Linked DNA regions of Homo sapiens: region 2 is linked to region 1. Evidence: promoter capture Hi-C in 16 types of primary human blood cells and fetal thymus (Javierre and others, 2016). All regions are on one chromosome and are shown on one strand. The core of a region is centred on a gene start or on the middle of the fragment in contact, and the rest is flanking DNA. Distances in the headings are between cores, read along the strand shown.

Region 1 (3,736 bases), core at 632-3,131:
CCGTGATGGCCTGTACCTGTAGTCCTAGCTACTGGAAAGGCTAAGCTGGGAGGATCACTTGAACCCGAGAGGCGGAGATTGCAGTGAGCCAAGTTCACGCCTCTGCACTCCAGCCTGGGTAACAGAGCCAGACTCTGTCCCCGAAAAAAAAAAAAAAAAGATTAGCCAGGAGTCCTAGCTACTAAGGAGGCTGAGGTGGGAGGACTGACCGCTTGAGCCCAAGAGGTTGACACTGCAGTGGGCCATGATCATACCACCACACTCCAGGTTTGGAGACAGAGCGACCCTGTCTTACAAAAAAAAAAAAAAGAAAAAAGAGAACATTATTGGGATAACTACAGAAGTCTAAATACAAGGCTGTATCCTGGATTACAGTATTATACAAAAGTCAAAGTTTCTGCATACTATAACCATTATTATAATTGCTGCAGGCTAGAAAATGGCATTGTTTTTAGAAGATACATGCTGATGTATTTAGGAGTTAAGAGTCCCGACTTCTGCAACTAACTCTTATAAGTTCAGAAAAATACATAAATTAAGAGAGAGAAAGCAAATGCAACCAAGTATTAGCAATTGGTAAATGTAGGTAAAGAGTATATGGGATGTCGTTCTAATATTCTTGCAACTTTTCCTCATAAGAACTTTTCAAATATAAAACATTTGAGAAAATCTGTTAAATAAAAAACATTAAAAGATGCAAGTAAAGTGCTTAGCACAGTAACACAACAGGTTGCTATAATTGTTAATACTGTTATTATCTTCCAAAACAGATTAAGTGACAGATCTAAGAAAATGTGACATTGAAATCACTAGAATTAACTACATCAGAAACAGGAAAAAAAAGCATTCTCATAAAATTGGACTGTGCTATAATAAATCTAACACCATAAAAAAATACCATTACAAAACCCCTCATCGTGTAGTTTTACACGAATCCACTTTAAGGTCGTCCTTAAGCAAGTACTTAGTGAGCGTCTATTAGGTGCCAGTCTGTTCTAGGTTCCGAGGATAAAAACATTTGCTTTCAAAATACTTACGTCCTAGTGAACCAAGACAATAAATGTCATAAATACAATGGAGTAAAATAAAGTAGGAAGAACATGGGAGTGGGGAAGGGCTACCAAGAGGGTGATCATGGGAGACCTCACTGAGGTGTCGAGAGCAAAGTTTGGAGCCACCTAACTGAAGAGCGTTGGGAGCCGGCCAGGTAGTCAAGGCACAGTGAAGAGATCAGTGTGGCTGGATGAAGTAAGCCAAGAGGAGGGAGCTGAAGATGGGACTGCAGATGGAAAGGGGTAACAGGCAGTCCAGAAACCAAATATACCATCCTAAGAGCTTTAGCTTAGGAGAAGCCACTGTAGGTAGCAAAGGAGAGGCACAATCTGCGGTAACCTCCACAGTGGATTCACTTTAACATTCTCCCAACTCTCCTTCTTCCCAGCGCCGCCCTCCCCCAACCAACCCGCTACCTCGGCCAGATCACCTTCCAGTGAACCTGACACATTATCATTTCTTCATGAATATTATGGGTGTGTGCTCGGATGAGGACAGCTCTGGCATGGTACATCTTTTCTCTCACGATTCCCCAATCTGCTCAGAGATAACACAAACCGCTCTCAGGGACGCACACACAACAGAGAGGTCACACTCGACAGGGAAACACACGCCTCCCTACAGCCGCGCTCCACACACCCTCCAGCAACGCGCTGGGCGGAGCCAGCCGCCTCGAAGCGAGGCTCCCGGGTCGGCCGAGCCAGCCCCCGCTCACCCTCAGGTTCCCTTTAGTTCGCTGCTTGTTCTTCCCGCCCATGGTCGCGGTTGCAGCTGTACTCTGAGCACTCAGACCCCGGTTGACACGTCCGGGACACAACTTCCGGCTTCTGGCGGCGGAAGAGGACACCCTGTAATAACTTCCCCCGGGCCCTTTTCCGCCACCCACCCTGTCCATTTGCTGCCCCACTTCCGCTCCCGCCTCCCGCTGTGTCCCTGACCATCCGCCACCGGAGACGTCACAGCTAAAGCCACGCCTGTCTGAGTGATGTCATTCCTGGCCAATAGGAAGCCAAGCATTGGACCCGTGGCGCCAAATCCTGTCCTCCCCGCTTTCAGAAGCTAGGTTTGTTCCTTGCTTAGAGGGTAGGAAACTGGCGTGAATCATCAGAGGGGCAGTTTCACATAAGGGTAGCATTAGAATGTTATGGTAGAGGCTGTGGGAAGATGGGAGTGTTTTAGACTTCCAACATGATGCAATCATCAGTATCACCTGGGCGTTTTTTAGAAAAGGCCAACTCGGGCCCCTCAGAACTCCTGAATCAGATCCTGCATTTTGACAGTATTCCCAAGTCTTGTTAAAATTTGATTACTGCTGTAGGCACTATTCTCTCTAAATCTCCCCTCCCCGTCCCCTTTTATTCATATTGAAACTGTTAACGTGCAGTTTAGGAAAGAGGATAATGTGGGAGTCCCTATTAAAATTTGAAATGTACAAATCCTGTAACCCATTGATTGTGCGACTCAGAATCACACCAGAGAAACAAGTAAATGTGTGCTGGTTATTGTTTCTTGTCCACGCAGTCACCCTTTTATACTCAACTCCATGTTACTGGGGGGGCTTCTGCTAGATTCCACCAACAGGACGAACAAGAGGGAAACAAAGGCAAGAGGAAGAAGGGACTTGCTCCATTCTGTAAGCATCATGCCAGCAGCAGCTGCATTTTACCGTGGCAGGAGCAATTGCTTTAGCCAAAAGGTGGTTTTAATCTCTATCCTTTTTCCAACAATCACAGAATCAGCCTTATTGCACCCCTCAGAGATCACAGCAGCAGTCAGTGCTCTCCTCAGAGATCTGAATTCTACTTTCATGCGGCCCCTCCCCTGAGCTCCTGAGATAGCCAATGTTTGAGCCACCTCCTCAGAAGTTTGAGCCTCAACACCGTGGGATCCCTTCTTTGTGCTCCAGAGATCCAGTAACAGCCAGCCATCACCCTCTCTTCATTCTTCATAGGCCTGAACTAAGGTGTTCAGGGCCCTCCTTCAAGCTTTTAGGTTCTGATGACTCCAACCACTTCTTTTGTTCCATCCTTTCCTAGCTCTAGGAATGGTAGCTGCTACCTGCAGTGATTACCTGTTACCTTTTATAATTCCTTTTGACCAATTTCCCATATTAAAATATTTCTCAATAACTAATGTGATTTCTGTTTTCCTGACTGGACCCTGATTTTAAAATGCACACAAAAGCCAGGTGCAGTGGCTTATGCCTGTAATCCCACCACTGTGGGAGGCCGAGGCAGGTGGATCACCTGAAGTCAGGAGTTCGAGACCAGCCTGGCCAACATGGCAAAAACCCATCGCTACTAAAAATACGAAAATTAGCTGGGCAGTGGTGGCAGGTGCCTGCAATCCCAGCTACTTGGAAGGCTGAGGCACGAGAATCTCTTGAACCCGGGAGGCGAAGGTTGCAGTAAGCCAAGATCATGCCACTGCACTCCAGCCTGGGTGACAGAGCAGACTGTCTCAGAAAAAAGTCACACAAAGAGACATATTACAGGAGGTTCACAAAAACTTTATAATAGAAAGATAATTGTAAGCAACCTATGTCTATATATTGGAGAACTGCTAAATAAATTATATGTATTCAATAAGCTATTAGGCAACATTTAAGAAGAATAAGGTTTATCTGAACACACATAGGAAGAATTCTAAGACACATTCTTAAATAAAAAGCAAATACCAATAT
Region 2 (3,736 bases), core at 610-3,109, 650 kb after region 1:
AAGCCAAACCATATCAGTTGTACAAAGAGGTGGCAAAATAACAATTACCCGTAAAGTGCAATACAGAAACAAAAGGCTACTTTGTGATGTTAGAATATTAAAAACATAATCCTCACATAAATATGTCAAAGAAACATAAATATTTATGCATGAGAAAACAAGCAGGTAAAACTAGTTCAAAGGAGGATACAGTGGACTGAATTATACATGTACATTTTTTCTGTAAGTTCATTTCAAGAAAAGGTGTTAATCTAACTGCAATCTTACTCCAATAGACTTCCTTTTCTTGAAAATGGAAAACTGTTTTTCATTTTTTAACAGAACCTTTCATTTGATGGTAGCTATCCTTCATTAAACAATCACTACATGACAAATATTTTGCTAGGCTATACATATAAAATATGTAATCCCTACAAACTTATGGTGTGGGCATTTTATTACCCATGTTATAGAAGGAGGAACTGAGAAACAAGCTAAATGACTTGACTAAGTTCACACTGACAGCAAAGTGTGATGAAATCTCAGAATCTGTGTTCCCAGCACCAGAGTTAAATAGGTTGGTCTTTCCCTAAATCCCTGCCTCACTCTCCTATCGAAACCTATGGCCCTGGTGGACAGGTCTAGTCCAGCTCCTGACTCTGTCTTATTGAATTGTTTCTGGATATGATTTTTATGAACACAGTGTGTCCTGAAGCACTGCACATGCTTATAGATTGTGTGTGTTCTTCGGTTCCTTTGCTAATTCATTCATTAATTCATTCATCAATTCATTCACTTGTTTGGCATGTATTTATTGGGTGCTTATTCTATGTCCAGCATTGTGCAAGAACTAGGGAATTGAGACTGAAAACGCATAGCTTGGAGATAGACGTGGAAACAAACACAATAGCATACCCACAGTTGTAATGGAGGTACAAAGCCTACATCTGTGAGTCAGGGTCCTGCAGATAGGAGCTAGTGCTTGAGTTGAGACGTAAAGCATGACCCAGAGGAGCACGGCATTGCAATCAGAGTTAAAATAATTTGGTAGGAGCATATTGCATATTCAAGGGAGCCACAGTAGGTTCAGCAGGTGCTGCAGATGGAGCAGGAGATGAGAGAGCTGGCAAAGGGATCAGGAACAAGATCATGAGCCTGTATATCCTGCTGAAGAGTGTATGTTTTATCCTGAGGTATAAGAAAAAGCTTTAATGAAGCGTGTCAATCCTCTGCCATGTAGAATTTACATTACTAGGTGGCAGAAGCCACCTCTTCTACTTTTCAAGGGTGTTATCCCTTAAGATGCCAAGTTAATATTACTTATGTAGTGGAGTTCCAGTAATGCTTGTTGAGTGGGAATGTATAATCTCCTAGCATGCATTTGTTTAGCAAATGCTCGGAGAGCTAACATAGTAACATACTCTATCATGTTTCATATGTTCTTTAACTCTTCCCCTTTATCTAGTCAGCCCCATACACTGAAAGGCAGTGAGCTGGAAACATGTGTCTGAAAAGCTTACTGATTCCCAACAGTGTGTGGAGTTATCAGAAATTACCGCACATGCAACAACCTCTGCTCAGGAAGTTTACCTCCTGTGATGAATTTGGTCTTCACCCCATAAATTCAATCTGCTGACTTGCTTCTTTTCATTTTTTTTTTTCTGACTCTAGTTTTGGAACTTCTTTACAAAGTGAGAATAACTTAAAAAAAAAAAAGAAGCAGCGGGGGAAATTTGGGGACCAAGTTCCTTATTTCATGTTTCCTAATGAAACCTGATACTTGCAAAATTTTGTTCAGTTATGCACTCATCTGAAAAAACACGTGCACTTTCTCTTTTGCATGTTTTAGGTTGTCTCAGAATTTCCTCAGTGCCAGTCCTCCAGCAGGCTGAGGCATTGCTTCTGGTTACCCCATTCCATCTTCTCTGTAGGTACCTACACCCTGCCAAAGGTAGCATATGACATCCTGACTCAGGAGACAAAAGAGGATGAGCACAATGTTGACAATGGTTTCTGATTCATTCCCCCCTCCCTTCCTGTAACCCCTAACTGTGGAGATTAAAAATGAGAGATTTGCTTCTTTGGAGTGAATGAATATAAAATGCCTTCTTATTTTCAGTGTGGTCCCTCATCTTGGAGCTCATTATTTCTTTAAATATGCCTAAATGTGGCTTGGTAATTTCACCTTCTTATGCGACTTAAGTACAAGTGATAAGGTGTCTTGGGGGCTCTTGAGTGTTTGATCCCAAGCTTTCATGTCACTTCTGCCTCTCCTTGAACTTCTAGGAGATAAAAGAAAACCAGCTGTTTTCTTGTTAAAGATCAAGGTAATCAGGATGGCGATTCAGGACACAACCATGATCACTGCAGGGAAAAGGAGGTGGTGTGATGTTTTTCTATTAGGCACAGTGTGTCAGAGTTATGTAGCTGTCAGAAAAGGTATTTTGTTTCATGCCTATTTGTGATGTCTTTGTTGTTGTTGTTGTTGTTGCCAGTTTGAAATTCCTGGTATCATCTTCAGTAAACTGAATGAGGCTATTCTTAGTGGTGCCTTCCAATGGCAAGAGAATAGTATTTCAGATGCTTACTAGGTTTCTGAACTATTCTTCACAAGCATTTGCCTAATTCTTTATCCTTACAGTCATGCTGTGGGGTAGATGATACTATACCCATCTTATAGATAAGAAAACTGAGAGACAAGAAGTGTAAGTAACTTGCTGATATGGTTTTGGTGTGTCCCCACCCAAATCTCATCTCGAATTGTAGCTCCCACAATTCCCATGTGTTGTGGGAGGGACCCAGTAGCAGGTAATTGAATCATGGAGGCAAGTCTTCCCATGCTGTTCTCGTGATAGCGAATAAGTCTCATGAAATCTGATGGTTTTATAAATGGGATTTTCCCTGCACAAGTTTTCTCTTGCCTGCCACCATGTAGACATGCCTTTCACTTTCCGCCATGATTGTGAGGCCTCCTCAGCCACGTGGAACTGTGAGTCCATTAAACCTCTTTTTCTTTATAAATTACCCAGTCTCAGGTATGTCTTTATCAGCAGCATGAAAATGGACCAATAGACTTGCCCAGGTTATATTGCTCATCAGTGTTAGTGGAACTAAGATTTAAACCCATGCAGTCACTGCCAGGACTAGGATAAAGTAAGAGAGGTGCTCAGGGTACAAAATTTAAGCGAGAATTTCCTCTTAATCTTGTGCAAGTATAGAATACTCACCCAAGAATGAATGTTTCCTTAAATTGCACCCTCATCCTGGGCTTGCAAGCAACCTAGATTTGTAGCCTAGGTACTTAATCCTTATACATCCCGCCTGCTTTATCCTCACCCTCATGGATCAGAGTCAGCCTTTAGTTGCATTGAACAGACTGAGAGAGGGTGTGCAGGCATGGAAGAGACCAGCAGAGACACGAGTCCAAAGCAGGTGTCTTTCCTTACTCTTAGCTGGGTATTCTCCTGTGCCCTCCCTCTTCTTTACACTATATTTCCATCCTTCTCCAGTACAGAAAGGAAAAAAATACTCTTCACTTGAGAACTAAATGTCTGTATCCCATAGAGAAATATTAGAATAGCATCTCAGAGCATTGCGCATACTCAGGCCTAGCTACTCCAAAGAGCCTTATTTCTTATCATCAAGTCCAGACACACCCTGAGGTTCGTGGTGGAATGGATGATCATGCAGTGTACATATCGATAAGGAGTCACGGGGCTTAGAACAGGGCCTTGTGACAAGGAGTCAAACTGCCTCA

The links. Contacts are between HindIII fragments. The CHiCAGO score rates a contact against its expected background, and 5 or more counts as called.
Region 2: a fragment that was not itself captured here is called in contact with the fragment with the promoter of LTN1 in region 1 in 1 of 17 cell types (M0 macrophages); the score reaches 5.1 in M0 macrophages.

The regions. Positions count from the first base shown.
Region 1 is chr21:28,990,996-28,994,731 of GRCh38, forward strand. It overlaps LTN1 (listerin E3 ubiquitin protein ligase 1), which reads right to left and starts at 1,882. Exons shown (of 30, transcript NM_015565.3): 1 at 1,769-1,882. The coding sequence starts at 1,810. LOC105372766 (a long non-coding RNA gene) reads left to right here and starts at 2,108. Exons shown (of 3, transcript XR_007067835.1): 1 at 2,108-2,136; 2 at 2,575-2,686; 3 at 2,787-3,186. RefSeq lists enhancers at 1,687-1,796, 2,107-2,166. The HindIII fragment of the contact is 7,723 bases long and covers 1-3,036 here.
Region 2 is chr21:29,638,479-29,642,214 of GRCh38, forward strand. The region is part of intron 7 of GRIK1 (glutamate ionotropic receptor kainate type subunit 1); the gene reads right to left. Among named protein-coding and RNA genes, the nearest start is that of GRIK1-AS3, 17 kb to the right of the region's middle. RefSeq lists an enhancer at 1,354-1,433. The HindIII fragment of the contact is 735 bases long and covers 1,493-2,227 here.